4 separate regions of the Homo sapiens genome follow, and all the other regions are linked to region 1. The links are contacts of gene promoters, found by promoter capture Hi-C in blood cells and fetal thymus (Javierre and others, 2016). All regions are on one chromosome and are shown on one strand. Each heading gives the region's core, a stretch centred on a gene start or on the middle of the fragment in contact. The rest is flanking DNA. Distances are from core to core; before and after follow the strand shown.

Region 1 (3,510 bases), core at 465-2,964:
AATTGAATATAGTCTCAAGAGCCACATAACGTTTTATGAATTCGGCTACACAACGGATACCTTGGTAGGGTATCTCCAAAGGATACCTTGACAAAAAACAAGGAAGAAACCATATAGCAACAACTGATACGTGTTTCTCTTGCTCCTACTGTTAGGAAAAATTCACAGACAATCCGTACAAGTTACTTCAACACAAAGAAATGTAAATCCAGGAAATAAAAATCTTAACAGCAAAATCCATCACCCTTATCTATGGTCCATTATTTCAATATTGGGTATTCACACTACAAACCTGATTTCATAACCAGGCATTAAACTAAAATAAGATGCATAATGCTATTAATACTTTCAAATTCCTTGAATCCTGGCAGGACAAAATATCCCAAACCCTCTAAACCCAATTACTAATTCTAGTGAATTGTTAAGTCGACCCAGTGAGAGTTTGGGACGCCCTCCATGACACAAGCAGGGGGCCAGGGAACAGCATATTATACTCTGTATGTATGACTGCAAACTTTGTCATCACTCCATTCCACAGACTTCATAAAAGTAAAAGCTTTTTGTTTCTTTGTCTGAACAAATGGAGCCACAAGCATAGGATGCCTGCAAGATGTCCCCACTTCAGTGGGAGAGGTGCAAATACAACTTCCACGAAGAAACTCGCTACTGAAGTCTGCAGAAGCCACCGCAACACACCGCAAACCTCCATTCCGCGATCGCTGAATGACAGAGACATTTCTGAAATGTCTCAAACCTGCTGTTCATCTGTGGCCTGGTGGCCGTGTCAAAAGCCTGCGGAGCTCCTAAAGAAGGCACTAATCCTCTCCGGAGGTCTTGCTAAAAGCTGTGGGAAACGAAGGGAGCCAGGCACGTACGCTTTCCTGCAATCTAAAACTTCCGAGATTGCATTTACCAAAACCCCTTTCCACAAAGAGGTAAGGGTGACTTAGCTGCTACTGTGGATATCAAGATCGAAATTCAATTAAAAACAAAGCAAAGGTACCCGTTCCAGTAACGTATGTTTCACTCCAGTAAAAAGTAAAAAGACACAGCAAAGAACAAGGTCCCCGGTTCCCGTATTCTTGACCTTCAAGAACTGCAAAAAAGTCAAGACCCAGTGAAAGACGAAAAGTTTGAGTGGCTGCTGGGCTCGCGGGCGGCTCGCCTGACTCCGGAGCAGCTGGAGGAACCCGCCTCGAGGTTAGGGTCTCGCCGCGCCCCCACGACGGCTGTGGGCGCAGAGCCCAGAGGATGGAGCCTCCCCTTCCTGAAACCCGCTCGAAGCTCGGAAAGCCCCGGCCCCTCCGCGCGGGCTGCGGCCCCCAGGCTCCTTCCCCGACGCGCCCGAGGGCGCGGACCAGCCCCCGGCACGCGACCCCGCACACTTCCGGGCCCGACGCCCTGGCCGCTCGCCCACTTACCGGCATCATCTTGGACCCGAACCGCATGGAAGCGGGTGGCCAGACTGCGGCCCCGGCCGAGCTGAGGTGCCCCGGAGGGTCGCGGATGCGGGGGAGGGGAGCGGAGAGCGAGGCCGCCCGGACCTGTTGCGAGGCGGCGGCGGCGGCAGCGGCGGCGCGCGGGTCCGAAGGGCCCTCCGCGCGGGCTGGGGCACCAACAAGCCCCGGGCTCCCCCGCCCCGGCCGGGCCCCCTGACGCGGCTTTGTCTCTTCGACGCTCGTGACGGTCGGGGCTCCCTCCTCCGCTCCGAAACCAACTAATCCCGGGTCGGGCCCCAGCCGAGCCCGTGCCGGCTCCGCCCCCCGCGCCGACCCCGCCCGCGGCGCGCCCGGCGGCCTGGGGGAGGGGCGGCCGCGGGAACGGGAGCTGCGCGCGCCTGCGCGGGCCCGGCTGGGTAGACGGGGAGCGGCGGGAGCCGGCCGCCTTTTCTTTCTTCGCCCCGGACTGAAGTGCGGTCGGGGCCGCGCGGCGGAGCGGCTGGAGCGCGCGCCTCCTAGCGGAGCCGGGGCAATTGGAAGGCCGCGCCTCAGGAAAACAGGATGGTAGTGAATGGCACCGAGCCGCCCCAGGGCTGCCGCCGTCACCTCCTCGGCGGCTCCGAGTCGTGCGAGGCAGGGGACCCTTTGCCTTCAGAACAGGGCGCCCGACGTTGGGCGCGTGGACAGAGTCCTCCGGCGGCCGCGCCGCTGGGCCAGGCGGAGAGAGGCGGACGGACTTCAGGGGAGGCCCGGGCCACGCCGCGGAAACTACCCGACTCCCTGGAGGCGGCCAGGACCGACCCTGTCCCGACAAAATGGAGTTCCCCGTGTGGCTTCAGCTCGCGGCGCGTTCCCAGAGCTCCTCAGTGATCCGGCTTTCGGATTGTTCGCCTTTCATCTCATTTGCCGTTGTCCAAATTCTAATTTAAAACTCATGTGTTACTTGCTGTAAGGTTAACAAACGTACACCGCAAACTGGATAAAGGGATAACTTTTATGTTGTGTATGTTTTACCACAATAAAAATAAATTTTGTAAAAATGTGTCAGGCAGCATTCTGAGGAGCTTCCCTGGGGGGTGCTGGGAACACCCTGCAAACAGCCTCCGATACGGGGAGCCGGTGGATACCATCCTTTTCCAGGGAGGGAGGCCAAGGCCTAGGGAAATGGCAGGGCTGCCTTCCAAAGAGTAGCAGAGCGGGTTCAGGCTTTTATTCCACCTTCCAGAGAGACACATACTGCGGGAACCCTAACTCCAGGAAGCTTTGTTCTAGTAAGTTGTCAGTGCAAGTTCACTCAGAATCACTTTTCTCTGCCTTTATACATGATTCTAGAACCTGAAGTGGGGTAAATCCCCTGGGTTTATCTAGTATCAAGAACAGACAATTCTTTCTTAGCCCACCATATCCCTTACCAGAATCTCCATCGAACTCCCTATTGCACCATCCCAGATACTGTATCTGGAAATACTAAATTACGGTTAATTCAACTAGAATTTAACGTTCTCGCCCGGGCGCAGTGGCTCACGCCTGTAATCCCAGCACTTTGGGAGGCCGAGGCGGGCAGATCACCTGAGGTCAGGAGTTCGAGACCAGCCTGGCCACGTGGTGAAACCCTTGTCTCTACTAAAAATATAAAAATTAGCCGGGCATGGTGGCGCATGCCTGTAATGCCAGCTACTCGGGAGGCTGAGGCAGGAGAATCTCTTGAACCTGGGAAGCGGAGGTTGCAATGAGCAGAGATCACCCCACTGCACTTCAGCCTGGGCAACGAGAGTGAAACTCCATCTGAAAAAAAAAAAAAGAATTTAACGTTCTCAAAAAATCTGGTTTATAGTCTTGTTTTCTTAAGAGGGTTATACTGAGTTAAGCAAAATAAATTCATCCCTCATTCAGTAAATATTTATTAAATACCTGCCACTTGGTAGATATTCTTCTAAGTCCTAGGGATACATCAATGAACAAAAAGTTCAAAAGACAAGTGTAGTTATTGTGAAAAAAATAGAATAAGGTAAGAGAAGGGGATAAGGTGTACAGGTGCAACTTTAAATATGGTGGTCAAGGTAAGCCTCAC
Region 2 (3,510 bases), core at 737-3,236, 1.6 Mb after region 1:
CGGGATGAAGTCAGGCCTGGCTGAGTCACCCGAGGGGCACTTAGGGAGCAGGGGGGCAGTGAACACCTCTGCATGAGCAGGGGCATAAAAACGGAAGGTGACAACATCCAGCTTTGCCTATTTCAACATTTAGCTCAGAGCCTCCAAGTACAAAGAAAGAGGAAGGAAATGTACCCTCCTTCTCTCTTCTCTTGAGCCCCCTCCTCCTCCCTAGGCCCCCCAAAATCAAACCACTCTTACTAGTACTAGCTCTCCTACACTGGTCAGCCAGAGTTAAAAGAAGGCAATTATGTCTTCCTACAGGAAGATGCTCAAGTTGCAAAAAACTCTTTATAAACTTTTGAAACACAAGCCCTTCAGGACGCAGGGGCTACTTGAGGTTTTAAAAGACCCTTGAACAGTTTCTGCGTGTTCTTAAAAACTTATTTACTGGCATCTTTCCATTGCACTTACACACCACATACACAGTATCTGTGTAATATAAACGCAGGCCAGTGCCAAAAAGATTCTTATCAATTATTCTGGGTTAAACAAGTTAACACATATGGTGGATACCTGTTAGGTCTCTAAAGCTTACTTTTTAAAAGAAGAATTAAGATTTGCTTGAAAAACAAACAAAATGAACCGGCATTCTTCTTAGAAGACCATTATCTTATACACAAATGTTCCAAAAGATGAAGCCAACAACATGATGTGCACCCCCACTTTACACAAGATCCACACACAATTGTCAAACGTGAGGATACAGTGCAATCACATCCTAATATATTCCCCCACAGGAGTGAAATAGCCAGGATGGCACACAAAAGCCCCACATTTGTTCGTGTCACTCACTATGCACTCACCTACAGGAGTCAAGATACACACAGGATTTTCTTACAAGAGATGTTTTAGGCAAGTGTGTTTGTAAAGAAAAATTTTGTTCACTGCACCCAATGTCCTCATTCGCCATAAACAGGAAAAACACGGAGACCCTCAGGTTTTTCTCTATTAAGCCAGATGCCCGCTAACTTCAGAGTCAACTGGCACTGCAATCCTCACACATTCCAGCTCCGGTATGTTACTGTTTGTGAACACAACAATTCTCTGCTCATTAACATTACAGGGGTCTCCAGCCATCTTTCCTTCACTTCTCCAAATTCATCTAAACGTGGCATAGAGCAAGACGCTCGAATGACGTTGGACAGCTTCCTTTTCACACCTGAGCCCCGGTAGCCCCACTAGGCAAAATGCAAACAGGAACCCCGGGCCTTGCTCCGCGCCCTTTGCTTCATGAAGCAACAGAAAGGCCACCTTCCTGGCTGTAAAGGCAGAAGCGCCTTCTTCCCCATAAACATCCTTGGGCAGCTCATCATTCCCCTCCTGCTCGTTCTTCTCCCTCTTCCCAGGCAGCCTGAGAAACAAAACTTAAACTGGACTTGTTGCCTAATCTAAATTAGGATCCCTCTGCTCTTCTCCGTAGCTCCATCTTCTCCCACACACCAGTTACTACAATGCGTAACTACAGATCTACACGTGTTTACGTGCAAGGTCCCCGGGGGCCTGTTCACCCTGGCACTGCCCAGGCGCCGCGCCTCGCGCTGCAGGTGTCCACGCGCGGACCACGGTATCTACCGCGCCCTCGTGTGAACACCCGACCGGGCCCCGTAATCACTCTGGGAAAGCGCCTTCAACAAAGCCCTCCGAAAGCAAGTGCTTTACTAAGTGCCCCTTGAGGCTACTGGCAGTGCGAGGCTGGCTGTCATTAGAACATTTTTCTGAACCCTCAAAAAGGTGAAAAAGCAGGACCGTGCTTTAGCAGGAACACGCACACCCGCCTAAATACCCGATTTTTGAGACTGTCCGGGCGAAGGAATTCAACGCATAGGAGCGAGCAGCCATGCAGTGTGCCTGGAGAATCACCAAACCGCGACGACCACGACCCTCAAAGCCAGTGACAAGCAGCGCGAATCTAAGCCCACCTCGGCCGCAGACCCTTCCCCGTCCCGCCAGGCCGCCGCGCCCTGTCAGCCTCCTACTGCAGGACCGCGGGGCCGCCTGCTCATCTGTCAGACGGGCGCTCGGAGGGGCCGGGAGCCAGGCTGCGGTGGGGCAGGACAAAGGCGCCCACGAACCCTCCCTGCCGCCGCCGCTCCACAGCCGCGCCGCGCCGCCAACATGGAGGGAAACGTCCGCAGTTTAAAACCCCCAGCTCCATTTCCGCAGCGGGCCCGGCTCGGGCGAGCTCCAGCCTCGCCCGCCGCCGCCCCGACCACCCGACTGGGCCAGAAAAGGCGAGGAGGGGAGGAGACGAGGAGGCGAGGAGAGGAGGGGAAGGCCGCCGCGCCAGGCCCCGCGCCCAGGGTCCCCGGCCCGGCCGCTGCGCCGGCCTCGGGCTTCCTCCCCCAGCGGCCCCTCGAAGAACGCGCCGCGGGGAGCTGGGAGCAGGGCGGGGGTGGAAGCACTCACCTGCGCCAGGTTCCGGCGGTGACACGGACGGCTCCCGGAGAATAGTCGCACAGCAACCCGGCGGCAGATCCACGCGCGCGACGCTACCCGGCCGCGCTCTCGCGCCCCGCAGTCCCGCAAGCCGGGCGCGCGCCTCCCCGGCCCCGCCTCGCGGCGCTTCTCCCCTCCCCTCGCCTCCCCTCCCCACCGGCGAGGCCGCCCGGGGCTCCCATTGGCTCCTCGACCTTTTGAATCATCCCCGGCGCTGTCGATTGGTCGCGCGCCGTGGCGCGTCCGCCCCGCCCCACCCTGCCTGGGGGCGGGGAGGCCGGTGAGCGGGGGAAACCGAGTCTGGCGGGGCGGCCCGGAGCGCGACGTTTGCCACCGCCTTATCTCAGCCGCCCAGGCGCCCTCGCAGCACACGGAGCCCGCGCGCTCCCGCCCTTTCCCTCCCAGCGCTCGCAGCAGTGTTTGGGGTGCCAGGTGGCTTGGCGAACGAGATTTTTTTTTAAGCTACAAAGAAAACTAATACATTCTTGAAGTGATCACCAAAGATCCGAGCTCGAAAGCGTTTCTCGGTAAAACACTATGAGTGCCCTCCTTAGCGTGTTAAAATCCCACAGAAGCCCCTGGACCAAGCAGCGGCATCGAAGGCGAGCAGGGGCGCTTTTGTGTCCGCGGCCGCTGAACCTGCGTAGAAGCGAACCCGGACCGATGCTGGGACCGGCGGCGGGAGGGAGGGGGAAGAATGGCCGAGGGCTCCTACGACTTACGCTGCGAGGAGGGGCTCGGTTGTTACCCGAGATGCTGTCGAGATGCAGTAGAAAATCCCCAACACCGCGGAGCGTGGAACAAGAAGTTTTATGCGTTACACACCGAAACACAACTTGACCTGCAACCTACAAGCCTGGTTTTAATTGAACCCCAAAATGCTGAGTCATGTCATTGTTGACTCCGAATCTGTTACGGATCCTAAGCTTTTTTTTTTCTGCTAGTTTTCATTATCGGTTAGTTGATTTCCTTCCTTTGAGGTCGAGAGTTTAAAGCAGTCCATTGAAGTTCCCTATTTTGCAGTGTGGTTTT
Region 3 (3,510 bases), core at 302-2,801, 1.2 Mb before region 1:
AAAACAGGTTACCTGGAGAATCATCACATCACTGATGCTTCTTCAGTACTGAGGCATGATGTTAGAAGAGCTCACGGTTGTAACATAACTTGAGAAATGGTACGTGTTCAGAGGAAACCAAATACAATAGGCATCAACAGGAGCAAGGTCTAGATGGGTCTGTGTTGTGTTGTAGAAAGTGTTTAGTAATGTGAGTATGTACGGTGCCCTTGTGTGGTTTTCAAATAGCTGTTCCACAGGGTGCATTTTGTTGGCATCTCAAATATTATTATAAATCCTCTATGATCTATTGTAAGGGGGAGCAAAAGAAACATTGCCATTTTCAATTCTGATCTTATTCCCAACCTTAAATTGTCCATCATCTTAAACCTGGCCTCACACTCAATTATATCTGAGCTACAAAGCTGACATGTTGGAAAGTAATCAGAGTTTAGCTTCAAAAAACAAGTAGCCCCTTCCAAATCTATATGCGTGTATAGCCATTTAAAGGCACGTTTTTAATGTATTTTATTGCAAATTGGCTTTTGGAAAAAATCTTATTTCTATTCGTCCTTCTTTGTCTCTGCTATTTAGATGTATTTATTGTCCATTTCATCTTACATGGGAAACTGTGTATGTGGTCAACAAAAATAAAAGTACTGCTTCAGCCAGTTTCTAGATCAAGCGTGATTGAATTACTGACCTATTCTCATAGTTTTGCTTAGTCCCAGCCAAATGAGATGTCGACTTTTGATTTTGTTTATAGAAAAATATACATAAGGGTATTCTTTCCTTTGTTTTGAAACTTAATTTTGGATACAGTCAACATTATTTACTTTCAGAAAATATTGCCTTGTGATGTAATTGAATCTATAGTAGGGTGTGATAGATATCTTTTCCCATTAATTTATCCAGACACTGTACTAAGGGAACAACTTGGCTGCAAATGAAATTGACAGTGTTTACTGCTACATAGTACTGGTTACAGTCACTTGAAGATAGACCCTTTTAGTGGTTAGTTCAAGTTAATTGACCTCTTGGGGGTTCCTGGGTACTCTAGTTCCCTATTACCCGTTCATGTAGCCATGCTTAAGTTAATCATCATCTGGGCTTGAATTTACCCATTTGCAAAAGGAAGCTTTTTATGAATATGAAACAGAAAAGATTGAGGACTAGAAGGTTAGAGAGGGAATCGAGAGTTTCACTTGGGTGAGAAAAGCCATGTGTGGTAGTTGGCACATTGCTTTTTGTTTCTCAGTATTATCCATAGAGAAAAATAGAGAAGGTTTTCCTTTCCCTTGTCTGCTTGCAGAAGGTATGATTTATAGCAGTAAAGCTCAAAGGATTTGAGATACTTTGAGCATATGAAAGAAATTCCAGAGAGTACTGGAAAAACTTGGTTGTTGTTTATAGTGGGATTCTTATATTTCCTGATAAATCAATATGCACTGTGAACACTGAATCCTGATATCTGGCTATTTTTTTTCTCTCTCTTTATATACAGTGTTAATGTACCGCGGTGAGGCTCTTGAAGATTTCACAGGCCCGGATTGTCGTTTTGTGAATTTTAAAAAAGGTGATCCTGTATATGTTTACTATAAACTGGCAAGAGGATGGCCTGAAGTTTGGGCTGGAAGTGTAAGTAAAATATCGACATACTTTATTTGCTTAATTTTTATTGGCTTCTTTAGCACTGTAGAGTTAAATGACTGCATTTTCTTGGGACCTTTGATGGAGTTAACTTGTCCTCTCTGCCTGACTGTGAAAAAAGATGGCCCTGTGTCCCCAGCAGGCCTTGGGTCTGCACAGAGTAGGGGCTCAGCAGAGCCTTCTGAAATAGAACTGATTCTGGCAAGTTCCCCTCAGGGTCAACCTCTAGGATGCTGCATACGTATTAGAGGTTGAAATGGTAAGAGCTGAAAAATACTTCATTGCTTTAAAAAGGAAGTATTCATAGGAATTAGACTTACTCCTGTAAACTATATGTGAGAGAGTGTTTCAGGCATGTAAGCTTAAAGTTGATTTTATGTGTATTTCTTTGTTTATATTATTATTTATGAAAAAGTGGCAGTCTTGGGAACAGTTCCCTAATCATCTGTGCTATTATAAGTCTGTAAAAAAGCAAAATGTTGTTTCTCGTGTGCTTTCTTGTTTGTTTGTTTTTTTTTTTTTGAGGCGGAGTCTTGCTCTGTCGCCCAGGCTGGAGTGCCGTGGCGCGATCTCGGCTCACTGCAAGCTCCGCCTCCCGGGTTCACGCCATTCTCCTGCCTCAGCCTCCCGAGTAGCTGGGGCTGCAGGTGCCTGCCACCACACGGCTAATTTTTTGTATTTTTTTAGTAGAGACGGGGTTTCACTGTGTTAGCTAGGTCTCGATCTCCTGACCTTGTGATCCACCCACCTTGACCTCCCAAAGTGCTGGGATTACAGGCGTGAGCCACCGCAACCAGCCTCTTGTTTGTATTTTTGTTTGCAGCCTTGGGGTCATCCTTGTCCTGCTTTTCAGACACTTGTGTCTGGAGGTTACCCCAGGGGATTGATTCCCAGCTGATTTTATGGGTACCCTGCTATCAGACCTGGCAATCAATGACTGCATCATGCTTTGGTATTTTTAATGAGGAGATTCACTGGGAGTGACCTGATTGAGAGGCCTGTCTTATGAGTTATTGTCCTTTCCTTTTTAGAAAGCGTGATATGTGGACTGTGTCTTTACTTCAAGTAGTAAGGGTCCTCGATATCTTTAGGATTGTCCCAACTTAGAGAAATACCCATCCCGACTATGAAAGTTTTCACTGTCAGTAAAACACCAAACAAACAAAGAGAAAATAAGGCTTGAGAAATCCCCTTGGGGAAAATAGACTGATTTTGTTGGCATTCCAGGTTCCTAGGGAGTAATCTTGGGAAACAACAACTGGTCAGGTTCAGCTCTCCTATTTAGAGAGCATCCCAAGTGACTTGCTCCATACCAAAACAAATCTATTCTATTTCCTTCAAGTCTACCTAATGAGATTTGTTGATAATCTTTACTCTTGGAAATGTTTTTCCATGTACCTAGGCTGCGTTTTTTCATAGAAAAGTTAAGTTTTTTTTTCCACTCCTCATCTTTGAGCATTTGGATGAATGAACTTGACTTAACATTTTCCTCCCACTGCAGTTTTGCTCATTCACGTCTTCATCTCTGGATGTCCTGTCAGTCTTTCTGGGTCACACCTCTCATCCTGCCTTCTTAAGGAACGCTGCCTTCAGCACCCAGCCAGAAGGGATCTTTGCTGCCTGATGATTGTTTAGGTGGCACTTTGTTTGCACTGTTCATGTGGCATTTGCTTTACTGCTTTGTATGGCAGTTAATTTGTGTACTGTCTTAGCTCACGTAAAGTGAAAGACTCTTTAATGGAAAGGCTCATGCCTTATCTGTCTTCTTTTTCAGTATTTCCTGACGAGGCAGTGGCATTTATTTATATTTGTCCTGATATTATCTTATGCAGAATTTGTTCTCTTAAGGCGATACTCTACTTTCCCTCCTACCCCCCGCCC
Region 4 (3,510 bases), core at 482-2,981, 1.2 Mb before region 1:
TCCGAGGAAAGCAAGACGTTTCTATGCTGTTTAGGGAGGCAGGTGGGAGTGTGTTTGAGAAGGTTTCGTCACTCTTTTTTTTTTTTTTATTGAGTACTTACGAAGTGACAGCACTTTATGTTCTGGTGTGAAGTCATGATCAAAACACAGAGAACCTACAGGTCTTTTCTGCATAACCCCCGGCTCTGTTGTGGGATGGGACCAGTGTGATAGTGTACTTGTAAAGGGCTGTGGAAACAGCATAGAGCAGACAGGTGTTTAATGCACTGTTTTCAAGGAAACATTTAGAATTAAGGCACTAAATTCAAAGCGGTTTATCTAGATCAGTTATCAGGAGCTATCCGAACTTAGTCAGCATTTGTTCTTTGTTTATGTAAGTCGATTTAAGATTTTAAATCTTAGAGGAATAAAACGTTATTTGTGATATTCATTATCATCATATTGGTTTTATTTGCAGCCATAAAAAGTTAGTTACTTGTATATAAAAGGTTTTTTGTCTTATGTGGTTTTTTAAGCAATAAAAACCAATTTATTCAAGACAAAAGTATGATGCAGAGAGATTCCAGCCATGTTTTAGATAACATATTGTATCAGGGCCTATTGAAACTAGAAATATATGCCCAACCTAAAGACATTTAGAGTCATAGTACTTCAAAACACCACAGGCCAAACAATAAGTATGAGACTCCCAGTATCCTGTTTTTCTTAAAGCAGTGAGAGCTACTGAAGATTTTTGAGGGGATAGGTATCTGATAGAGTTGGTTTAGAATTTCTGTGAATGAGTCTTTGTGACTGCTTTATGGTAAGCTTCTTTAAGGTTTCTCATTATTTCTAACATTATTTCTAACATTCAGCTAGTTGCTACATTGCCTGATGATGTTCAGCCTGGGCCTGATTTTTATGGACTGCCATGGAAACCTGTATTTATCACTGCCTTCTTGGGAATTGCTTCGTTTGCCATTTTCTTATGGAGAACTGTCCTTGTTGTGAGTAAATTAATGCATACTTTAACTCATAAATTCAAGTATGGTTTTATAATCACAGTCCTTTTGTTTCTTTTTCAGTTTCTAATATGAACAGAAATTAATGCTTTTAATTCAAGCTAACCTTGTAAAATAATTTAGTATAATTTTTGTGTTGGTAAATTCTTAAGTGAATAAGACAACATGTATAATCTCAGTGGGAAAACTTCAGTTTATATGTCTCATATCAAAGTCTAAATTTTAAGAATTAGGTGGGTCTGTATTTCAACTCACAAAGGATGAAAAGAAAGAATTAGATAGGTCATATGTACACTGTTAGTAGAACTAGGAATTCTTAGAGCCATCCTGAAAAATAGTTTCATGATGTGTATGATAAGCCTTAAAAATGGTTATATCCTTTTATATTGTATTAATGTCATGTCTAGTAATCGATCCTAAAGAAATAACCAGTCAGCCGGCACAGTGGCTCACACCTGTAATCCCAGCACTTTGAGAGTCCGAGGCAGGCGGATCACTTGAGGCCAGGAGTTCGAGACCAGCTTAGCCAACATGATGAAACCCCATCTCTTCTAAAAATACGAAAATTAGCCAGGTGTTGTGGCACATGCCTGTAATCCCAGCTACTCGGGATGCTGAGGCAGAGAATCGCTTGAACCTGGGAGGCGGAGGCTGCAGTGAGCTGAGATGTGCCACTGCACTCCAGCCTGGGTGACAGAGTGAGACTCCATCTCAAAAAAAAAAAAAAAGAAAGAAAGAAATAACCAATCATGCATTAAATATCTTACATGGCCGGGCGTGGTGGCTCACACCTGTAATACCAGCACTTTGGGAGGCGGAGGCGGGTGGATCACATAAGGCCAGGAGTTTGAGACCAGCCTGACCAACAAGACAAAACCCCATCTCTACTAAAAATACAAAACTTAGCCGGGGGTGGTGGCAGGAGCCTGTAATCCCAGCTACTTGGGAGGCTGAGGCAGGAGAATCGCTTGAACTGGGGAAGCAGATCATGCCACTGCACTCCAGCCTAGGCGACAAAGTGAGACTCTGTCTCAAAAAAAAGTTTTAAATATCTTACATGAGAGCATTCAGTAGAACAGTATTTATTAGAGTGAAAACTTTGACACAACCTACTGTGATTCACAGTGGGAAAATTGTTAAATTATTGTATGTTCATATAATGGGATATTAGGCTGCTTTATATAATTCAAAGACATAGGAGCACAACAAATACTCACAATTTAACATGAAGTAGAAAAAAAGTAGAAACCAAGACTTTAAGGTATAGATAAACTGTATATTACATAAACATACACACAGAAAATAAATGCTGCAAGGAAATACAATAAAATGATAAAAATTCTTATATCTAGGAGATGAGGTAAGTTTTCAGTTTTTAAAAAATGTGTATTTTCCAGATTTTCTGATTTCATCATGTACTATTTTACTCAGAAAATATCTTTTTATTTCGAAATGCAAATTATATCATGTGTAAAGACACACCGTTAATTTTTTTATCTTCTGTGCAGAATTTGCCTTTCAGACTTAAACATGTTTGTATAAGTGTGTATACTCATACTTGTACATCCTTATGATTATACTATATAGCATTCAGCTGCATAGTTATTTAACATAATTGGGAGAAGATTATTTGTGTAAATGAGCTTTGCAGATGAAAAGCTTTGTATTGAAACTTCACAGTTAAAATGGCCAAAATTATTGGATGCAAATCTTTCTAAAACTGAGTACTCTTTTTCTGATTTCATAATTATATCACATATATCATCATTAATAAATTTTCTCTCACAATTGATTGTAAAATTACTTAAAAAGAAGGGTCTTTTTTCCTGTGAGGCCTTCTCTAACCTCCTGGTGCTTTTCTTCAGATAAAAAGGGAGAATCAAAGGGTAAATGGAAGGGGAAAAGTTGAAAACATTTTACATTTCCCACTCTTGTTTCTCCTATTTGTTAATAAAAAAATTCTAACGCCTTTTTCGTTTTTCAGAAAGTTATATAGGCTCTGTGTCCTAACTGCTGTTCCTCAGCCTCAGCACTTGACTTTTGGAACCTTGGTCTCTGCTTGCCTGTTAGTTTGGGTGAAATGGAGCAGAGGAATTAGCAAGGCCATGACATTAGAGAGATAGTAATTTCTTTCCATGTTGGAATTTTCTGAATGCATATTCCTATAACAATGGTATTATAAGTGAGATTTAGATACTGGAATTATTATGTATACAGTATATTAATTATTGTATACAGTAATACAGTATATTATGTAAACAGTATATTTACTGAGCTTATGGATGATTTGTGGACTGGTGTTAGTATCTCATCAACATAACATTTGAAAGGGAAAATATGTTCTGGGTTGCAAAGAAATTTAGTAATATTCTTTTTACAATATTAGTTACTGCTTAGATTTTCTTGTCCTATAATTTAGTGCTGTCTTTGGGGGATGATTTGGGTGCCCTTTCAGGAAGATGATAGTTGTCATTTCTCTTGTTGCTTATGCATTTTCCTCTAGTAGTCT

Evidence for each region. The method cuts DNA at HindIII sites, captures the fragments that hold promoters and counts their contacts. A CHiCAGO score of 5 or more calls a contact.
Region 2: a contact is called between a fragment that was not itself captured here and the fragment with the promoter of TP53BP2 in region 1, in 1 of 17 cell types (fetal thymus). The highest score is 7.1, in fetal thymus.
Region 3: a fragment that was not itself captured here is called in contact with the fragment with the promoter of TP53BP2 in region 1 in 1 of 17 cell types (fetal thymus); the score reaches 7.8 in fetal thymus.
Region 4: a contact is called between a fragment that was not itself captured here and the fragment with the promoter of TP53BP2 in region 1, in 5 of 17 cell types (fetal thymus, naive CD4 T cells, total CD4 T cells and 2 more). The highest score is 11.2, in fetal thymus.

What each region holds. Positions count from the first base shown.
Region 1 is chr1:223,844,233-223,847,742 of GRCh38, forward strand. TP53BP2 (tumor protein p53 binding protein 2) reads right to left here and starts at 1,715. Exons shown (of 18, transcript NM_001031685.3): 1 at 1,422-1,715. The coding sequence starts at 1,448. RefSeq lists a silencer at 1,543-1,852. The HindIII fragment of the contact is 2,144 bases long and covers 555-2,698 here.
Region 2 is chr1:225,425,506-225,429,015 of GRCh38, forward strand. LBR (lamin B receptor) reads right to left here and starts at 2,533. Exons shown (of 14, transcript NM_002296.4): 1 at 2,449-2,533. RefSeq lists enhancers at 943-1,615, 1,616-2,287 and a silencer at 2,120-2,949. The HindIII fragment of the contact is 2,832 bases long and covers 571-3,402 here.
Region 3 is chr1:222,619,676-222,623,185 of GRCh38, forward strand. It overlaps MIA3 (MIA SH3 domain ER export factor 3), which reads left to right. Exons shown (of 28, transcript NM_198551.4): 2 at 1,484-1,617. Among named protein-coding and RNA genes, the nearest start is that of MIA3, 3.3 kb to the left of the region's middle. The HindIII fragment of the contact is 873 bases long and covers 1,116-1,988 here.
Region 4 is chr1:222,644,700-222,648,209 of GRCh38, forward strand. It overlaps MIA3 (MIA SH3 domain ER export factor 3), which reads left to right. Exons shown (of 28, transcript NM_198551.4): 7 at 855-986. Among named protein-coding and RNA genes, the nearest start is that of MIA3, 28 kb to the left of the region's middle. RefSeq lists enhancers at 1-357, 1-37. The HindIII fragment of the contact is 1,853 bases long and covers 806-2,658 here.